2 separate regions of the Homo sapiens genome follow, and region 2 is linked to region 1. Evidence: promoter capture Hi-C in 16 types of primary human blood cells and fetal thymus (Javierre and others, 2016). All regions are on one chromosome and are shown on one strand. The core of a region is centred on a gene start or on the middle of the fragment in contact, and the rest is flanking DNA. Distances in the headings are between cores, read along the strand shown.

What was found. Contacts are between HindIII fragments. The CHiCAGO score rates a contact against its expected background, and 5 or more counts as called.
Region 2: a contact is called between a fragment that was not itself captured here and the fragment with the promoter of AR in region 1, in 1 of 17 cell types (megakaryocytes). The highest score is 5.4, in megakaryocytes.

What each region holds. Positions count from the first base shown.
Region 1 is chrX:67,541,039-67,545,270 of GRCh38, forward strand. AR (androgen receptor) reads left to right here and starts at 2,983. Exons shown (of 8, transcript NM_000044.6): 1 at 2,983-4,232. The coding sequence starts at 4,109. The HindIII fragment of the contact is 7,103 bases long and covers 635-4,232 here.
Region 2 is chrX:67,774,900-67,779,170 of GRCh38, forward strand. All of the region lies in intron 1 of NXTAR (negative expression of androgen receptor regulating lncRNA), which reads right to left. Among named protein-coding and RNA genes, the nearest start is that of NXTAR, 7.9 kb to the right of the region's middle. The HindIII fragment of the contact is 9,737 bases long and covers 1-4,271 here.

The DNA of each region.
Region 1 (4,232 bases), core at 1,733-4,232:
TGATATACATAACAGCTTAAATGTACATCAAAGGCATTGTGCTCAGTGAAAGATGCAAGTAAAAAAAAAAAAGAGTACATGCTGTATAGTTCCATTGACATAAAACTCTGGAAAGTGAAAAACAGTCTATACTGACAGAAAGCAGATCATTGGTTGCCTGAGGAGGAGGAGTATAGGAGAGGTGGAGGGAAAATGTACAAAGTGGCACAATAAAAACTTTTGGAATCATAGATATATTCACTATCTTGATTGAGTGATGATTTCATGAGTGCACGCGTGTGTCAAAAATGATCAATTTATGCAACTTTAAATATGTGCAGTTTATTGTATATATCAATTATACCTCAGTACGGCTATTAAAAAGAAACCCTCTGGCTGCACAATGCAGAACTGATTCTAGGAAAGAGTGGAGGGAGGATGACCATTTACAGTGCTCCAGGTGGAAGAGAACGGTGCCTTCTGGAAGTGAACTAGGTTGGCAACAACAGAGATGAAATAAATGGGCAGATGTGTGAGATACTTAGGAAATAAAACCCGATGGTCACCATTTTCCAAAGGTCAGCTCATCCTGGCTTTCCAGAGCAAAGAGCTAGGGAAGACTTTATTAATAAATCCCTCTTGAAGTTGCAGAGGAAGCTTATAGCAGAAACTTACTCTCAACCTGACTAATCTGAGAGAACACCTCTGGTTCCATTTGATTACTAAAAAACTGCAAAGAACAGGAGGAGAAAGAAGAAGAAAGCTGGTACAAACAGTGAACTTATATAATATTAATCAATAATTGTCTCTTGTTCTTAAAAGCAATGGGAAGAAAATGAGATTTGAGCTGGAAGATCAGAGTTCAAAATCCAAATAAAGTATATGGCCCTAATATGCTTATAGTAGTTAACCTTTCCTGATAATGATATAATTGTTGACAGCACCATCTTTAAAAATAAAAATAACATAGTAATCCTTCAGATTTGTAGAATGCTTTCCTGTTTACAAGTTTGTTCTATACACATTATGTCTTTTAAATGACACACTAGCCTTCTGAGGGTAACTTATATTGGCAACAGTTTTCAGATGTGGAAACTGTGAAGACAATGTTGGTGATGTGGAAGCAACATAAACTTTGGAGTCTTTCAGACCCAGGTTTGAATGTCAGACTGCTTTTTATTCAGAGTAACTTCAGAGCATTATTTCTCACCTTAATTTTTTTTCAGGCCTCTTTGTGTCTATGTGTCCTCTTCACTCCTGTCCATTGTTCATTCAGTGATTTTTGCACCTTCCTTCACTGTTAGTGTGTAGACACATAGTTCTCCTGGCTCTGAGACCTATGTTAATTCCATTCTACCATCCTGCCAGCCCACTCAATTCCTATTGAGCAATGCTAGTTGAAAGTTGTGGTGGGATTAAATGTTGCAATGAGTATTCAAATGAGGTTGAAGTATCTACGCATTCTACTTACATATGGTGAGGTATATTCAAGGAAGGCTGTAGCCATTAAAATCTCAGGAAATAATTTTTCACCTCCTCAGGTGAAAGGGTCTTCAGGCCTTTGTGTTCTGGAAGGTTCATTTATAGCCATTTCCCAAATGACAATGCGATTGATGAGTCTAGAGTCTAGCTCAAATAGCAATGGACTGGAAGACTAGTTTAGGTTTTACTAATGTGGAACATAGAACAAATTATGTCCTTGTTTCAGCCTGTTCATCTGTGAAATAGAGCCTATCATATCCAGTCTTCCTTGCCTTTAGGTTTGAGTTACCTTCTTTGGTCAAGGTAAGTAAATGCCTATGATGTTTGGCTGTGCACAAGATAAAGCTACAACAAAGCTACAACCCATCTTTTCTCTGTAGAAGACTGCAAAAAGCAAAAGAGACCCAGGCAAAAATCTCGGAATGACTTTTGGAACAGAGAGCCTCCCCAGAATCAGAAGTCAAAGGAATTTAAAACATAGGGAGGCCCAGGGTCTCTACTGACATAAAGGAAAGATGTTTTCCTTATAGGTTTACGTTTACATTTTCTCTCTCTTTCCATTCCCACTTGCATCTCCACCTTTACACAGGGCTTATGGGACCTCCTCCACAAAAGAGCAGTTGCAGTAACCCACATCATCCTCTACGCCTGGCTGTCCATCAAGAGGCGAAAAGCAGCCCTATATAGGTTCTATCCTTGGATAGTTCCAGTTGTAAAGTTTAAAATATGCGAAGGCAACTTGGAAAAGCAAGCGGCTGCATACAAAGCAAACGTTTACAGAGCTCTGGACAAAATTGAGCGCCTATGTGTACATGGCAAGTGTTTTTAGTGTTTGTGTGTTTACCTGCTTGTCTGGGTGATTTTGCCTTTGAGAGTCTGGATGAGAAATGCATGGTTAAAGGCAATTCCAGACAGGAAGAAAGGCAGAGAAGAGGGTAGAAATGACCTCTGATTCTTGGGGCTGAGGGTTCCTAGAGCAAATGGCACAATGCCACGAGGCCCGATCTATCCCTATGACGGAATCTAAGGTTTCAGCAAGTATCTGCTGGCTTGGTCATGGCTTGCTCCTCAGTTTGTAGGAGACTCTCCCACTCTCCCATCTGCGCGCTCTTATCAGTCCTGAAAAGAACCCCTGGCAGCCAGGAGCAGGTATTCCTATCGTCCTTTTCCTCCCTCCCTCGCCTCCACCCTGTTGGTTTTTTAGATTGGGCTTTGGAACCAAATTTGGTGAGTGCTGGCCTCCAGGAAATCTGGAGCCCTGGCGCCTAAACCTTGGTTTAGGAAAGCAGGAGCTATTCAGGAAGCAGGGGTCCTCCAGGGCTAGAGCTAGCCTCTCCTGCCCTCGCCCACGCTGCGCCAGCACTTGTTTCTCCAAAGCCACTAGGCAGGCGTTAGCGCGCGGTGAGGGGAGGGGAGAAAAGGAAAGGGGAGGGGAGGGAAAAGGAGGTGGGAAGGCAAGGAGGCCGGCCCGGTGGGGGCGGGACCCGACTCGCAAACTGTTGCATTTGCTCTCCACCTCCCAGCGCCCCCTCCGAGATCCCGGGGAGCCAGCTTGCTGGGAGAGCGGGACGGTCCGGAGCAAGCCCAGAGGCAGAGGAGGCGACAGAGGGAAAAAGGGCCGAGCTAGCCGCTCCAGTGCTGTACAGGAGCCGAAGGGACGCACCACGCCAGCCCCAGCCCGGCTCCAGCGACAGCCAACGCCTCTTGCAGCGCGGCGGCTTCGAAGCCGCCGCCCGGAGCTGCCCTTTCCTCTTCGGTGAAGTTTTTAAAAGCTGCTAAAGACTCGGAGGAAGCAAGGAAAGTGCCTGGTAGGACTGACGGCTGCCTTTGTCCTCCTCCTCTCCACCCCGCCTCCCCCCACCCTGCCTTCCCCCCCTCCCCCGTCTTCTCTCCCGCAGCTGCCTCAGTCGGCTACTCTCAGCCAACCCCCCTCACCACCCTTCTCCCCACCCGCCCCCCCGCCCCCGTCGGCCCAGCGCTGCCAGCCCGAGTTTGCAGAGAGGTAACTCCCTTTGGCTGCGAGCGGGCGAGCTAGCTGCACATTGCAAAGAAGGCTCTTAGGAGCCAGGCGACTGGGGAGCGGCTTCAGCACTGCAGCCACGACCCGCCTGGTTAGGCTGCACGCGGAGAGAACCCTCTGTTTTCCCCCACTCTCTCTCCACCTCCTCCTGCCTTCCCCACCCCGAGTGCGGAGCCAGAGATCAAAAGATGAAAAGGCAGTCAGGTCTTCAGTAGCCAAAAAACAAAACAAACAAAAACAAAAAAGCCGAAATAAAAGAAAAAGATAATAACTCAGTTCTTATTTGCACCTACTTCAGTGGACACTGAATTTGGAAGGTGGAGGATTTTGTTTTTTTCTTTTAAGATCTGGGCATCTTTTGAATCTACCCTTCAAGTATTAAGAGACAGACTGTGAGCCTAGCAGGGCAGATCTTGTCCACCGTGTGTCTTCTTCTGCACGAGACTTTGAGGCTGTCAGAGCGCTTTTTGCGTGGTTGCTCCCGCAAGTTTCCTTCTCTGGAGCTTCCCGCAGGTGGGCAGCTAGCTGCAGCGACTACCGCATCATCACAGCCTGTTGAACTCTTCTGAGCAAGAGAAGGGGAGGCGGGGTAAGGGAAGTAGGTGGAAGATTCAGCCAAGCTCAAGGATGGAAGTGCAGTTAGGGCTGGGAAGGGTCTACCCTCGGCCGCCGTCCAAGACCTACCGAGGAGCTTTCCAGAATCTGTTCCAGAGCGTGCGCGAAGTGATCCAGAACCCGGGCCCCAGGCACC
Region 2 (4,271 bases), core at 394-2,893, 230 kb after region 1:
GCCCAGAAATAAGGCCACACACCTACACCATTAACAATAACAAGCAATAGGTAAAGGACTCTCTATTCAATAAATGGTCCTGGAATAACTGGCTAGCCATATGCAGAAGATTGAAACTGAACCCCTTCCTGCACCATATACAAAAATCAATTCAAGATTGGTTAAAGAGATAAATGTAAAACCCCAAACTATAAAAACCCTGGAAGGCAACCTAGACAATACCATTCAGGACAAAGGAACGGGCAAAGATTTCATGATGAAGACACCAAAGTAATCGCAACAAAAGCAAAACTTGACAAATGGAATGTAAAATTAAGACCTTCTGTGCAGCAAAAGCAACTATCAGATTAAACAGAAAACCTACAGAAAGGGAGAAAATTTTTGCAAACTATCCATCTGACAAAGGTCTAATATCCAGCATGTATAAAGAACTTGCCAATTTATGAGAAAATAAACAAACTGTAATCCCAGCTATTCGAGAAGCTGAGACAGGAGAATCACTTGAACCCAGGAGGCGGAGGTTGCAGTGAGCCGAGATTGTGCCACTGCACTCCAGCCTGTACAATAGAGTAAGGCTCTGTCTGAAGAAGAAGAAGAAGAAGAAGGAGGAGGAGGAGGAGGAGGAGGAGGAGGAGGAGGAAACCCACATGTGACCAACAAGCATATAAAAAAAGCTCAATGTCACTGAAAACTAGAGAAATTCAAATCAAAACAACAATGAGATACCATCTCACATATCAGAATGGTTATTATTAAAGTCAAAAAATAACTGATGGGGATGAGGTTCCAGAGAAAAGGGAATGCTTATACATCATTGATGGAAGTGTAAATTAGGTCAATCATTGTCAAAGCAGTGTGGCAATTCCTCAAAGAGCTAAAAACAGAAGTATCATTTGACCTAGCAATCCTATGACTGGGTACATACCCAGAGAAATATAAATGGTTCTTTTATAAAGATACATGCACATGAATGTTCATCGCAGCACTATTCACAATGGCAAAGACATGAAATCAACCTAAATGCCCATCAATGATAGTCTGGATAAAGAAAATGTGGCACATATATGGCATGGAATACTATCCAGCCATAAAAAAAGAACAAGATTGTGTCTTTCACAGGAATATCAGTGGAAATGTAGGCAATTACCCTTAGCAAACTAATGCAGGAACAGAAAATCGAGTACTGCATGTTCTTCTGATAAGTAGGAGATAAATGGTGAAAACTCATGGACACAAAGAATCAATAGACACTGGGGCCTACTTGAGGGTGGAGAGTGGGAGAAGAGAGAGCACCAGAAAAAATAACTATTGTTGCTAGGCTTAGCACGTGGGTGTAAAATAATCTGTACAACAAACCCATGACACAAATTTACCTATATGACAAATGTGCACATGTACCCCTGAACCTGAAATAAAAGCTAAAAAGAAAGAAAAATTAGAAGCAACCTAAATATCTCCCAAGAGAAGTACCTATGGGATATTATGTCATTAGGAATGATACTTTAGATCAGAATGTTTTGCCAATGCATATTTTCAATAATATAACGTTGCATTACACACACACACACACACACGAGCGTGTGTGTGTTTGCCAATATAAGATTTTCAACAAAACGTCAAATAATGGTTTATGCCTGAATGGTGGGATTGTAAGAATCTTGAACTTTCCTTCCTTTTTTTAAAATATTTGACCATGTGTATGTATTCTTCTAAAATAAAGTGTTAACATAAAAAGATATAAGCTGTTAAGGGGACTGGTAAGAAGGAGGCTCTTGGAATATTACAGCCCTTTTTGCCATCAGTCTTTTCTCCAAGACTGTCAGAAATACGGCCGGTTTTAAAAAGCTGAGTGCTGACAGTCAATATTGGAATCAGGCCAGCCCTCCAAGGATGAAGAAGGGGTTGTGACATAAATGACTAGAGGCCCATTGATCCTGAAAACTTCTGAGCCATCAGAGGAATCAGGTTGATGTGCTGATGTGCCCTTGCTTGGCCTGATATCCCAGGGCTTCATCTCTGGCAGCCAACTGGAAATCTTACTTTATCCACATCTGAATGAGCCAGCCAGTATGTGGGGTTCTCCCTGGCAGAGGCCCAGGTAGGCTGAGGGAGATGTTGCTATTGGAGCTGCCTTCTCCACCGAGCAGCAGTGAGCTGCTGGTTCTCACTGATCAAAGTCGTTTTCATGCCACAGGCCTTGAGAACTGCCCCCAGGAGCACCCAGAGAAGGTGGCCCCTACCCTCCTGAAGGAATGAATGAGGGACTTGATGTCTCAACAAAATAGCAAAACAGGCTCATGTAGAGAGAAGAGAGGAAATTATTACTAAAGTTTGAAAGCTGAAAAGGAGGGAGGAATATTTCAGGCCATGGAGTTAGGCTCCAAAAAGATGTCAACAGGCTGAAGTAAGTGGTTGAACCTGACCAGATGATTGACAGTTACAAATGGAGAGGCCTGCAATTGAGTGCAGAAAACCAACTGACTATTCACAGGGTGGAATAGACTGTCCTATACACAGTTTGCAGAAAAGGAACTTGAGACTTTCCCTTATAGGCATCATCACTGAGATGATAAAGCCCAAAAAATCTAATGGGAACTTAGGCTGCAACAACATATGTATAGTGTTTAGATCAAGGGAAGCAACAGTCCCTTTCCACTCTGTAGTGGTTAGACCCTTACTGAGGGACTTCCTTTTGGCTCGGACTACCATACATTAAGTGGGTCATATGTAGGATGTGTACAGAAGGGAGTGAACAGACAAGGGTGCGGCTGAAAGAATTTGGAGCTGTGGCCATTTATGCTAGTGTTTTAGTCCATTTTGTGTTGCTATAAAGGAATACCTGAGACTAGGTAATTTATGTAGAAAATAGGTTAATTGGCTCATGGTTCTGCAGGCTGCATAAGCATAGTGCTGCTGTCTGCTTGAATCCTGGTGAGGCCACAGGAAGTTTACGATCATGGCGGAGGAAGAAGAGGGAGCAAGAGAGTGAAGAGGGGTCCTGGACCTTTTTAAACAACCAGATCTTTCATGAACTAACTGAGCGAGAACTCACTCATCACCAAGGAACTAGTGCTAAGCCATTCGTGAGGGATTTGACCCCAGGATCCAATACTTCCCACTAGGCTCCACTTCCAACATTGGAGGCCACATTTCAATATGAGATTTGGAGGAGACAAACATCCAAATCCTATCAGCTGGAGAAGAGAAGACTTAAGAGAAGTGCTCTTTTTGTAGACCTCTAAGATATTGTCAGGAACAGAGAGAGCAGATGGAGTCTGAGAGGCTTCAGAAGGCAGAAATGAGACCCTTGGGTGGGAACCAGCAGGAAACAAATTTCAGCTCAACACAAGGAAGGACTTTTTAACTGAGCAGCCTATAAATGAAACAGGTTGTCATTAGATGGAGTGAACTCCTTATCATAGGAGATATGCAGGAGGGGCCTAGACAAGTGTTTTTCCAAGTTATTGCAGAGAAGAATCATATCTAGATAGATAGATAGATAGATGATAGATAGATAGATAGATAGATAGATAGATAGATAGATAGATAGATAGATCTTTTAAAGGGAGCAGAGGTAGTCTAGGTAATCTCTTAGTTTTATACGTGCGTAGTATTCTAGGTTCTGTGCAACTGAGAATTCCCCCAGTACAGGCCCAAGCATAATCTGTTTGGTAGTGTCTCACAGCTCACAGAGACTTAGATAACAATTCCTGCCTCAAAAGATTCTGTTAGGGGATCCATGGCCTTTCCTCTGGAAATTCAGAAACTTATTTTCTGACTTATCTGCCAGCAGAACTGCTTTACCACTTCTAATTACCAAGAGAATATTTTACAGCTTACTTCTCAAGATGAGGGTTGAGAACCAGACAAAGACAGGGGAAAAAGATAGGCAGATGTCATAATTCGATAACCCAGAAAGAGCACGCTTAGAGGAGACACAAGGAGTGGTCTGAGAGACAGGCAGACAGACAGACAAGACACAACTTTCAGGAAGGTGAGGGCAGATGAGGGAAGAAGTGGGGAGTGGGCAGAAGAGGCCAGACTGCCTTAAATGTACATTCACTGGAACTCTCATTACAATGACAAAGCTCTCATAATAGTGACCTTAGTAGTTAAACAATCTTTGGATTTCTAAGTGCTTCCTAAATGCGGATTATTTTTTTAATTGATTCCACCCAAAAGGTACTAAATTGTCCAGTAAATCATTCATGTCTTTCTTGGGGGTTAGGTATTTGTTTTACACAAGGAGAGAGCGCAGCACCTGTGCAAGA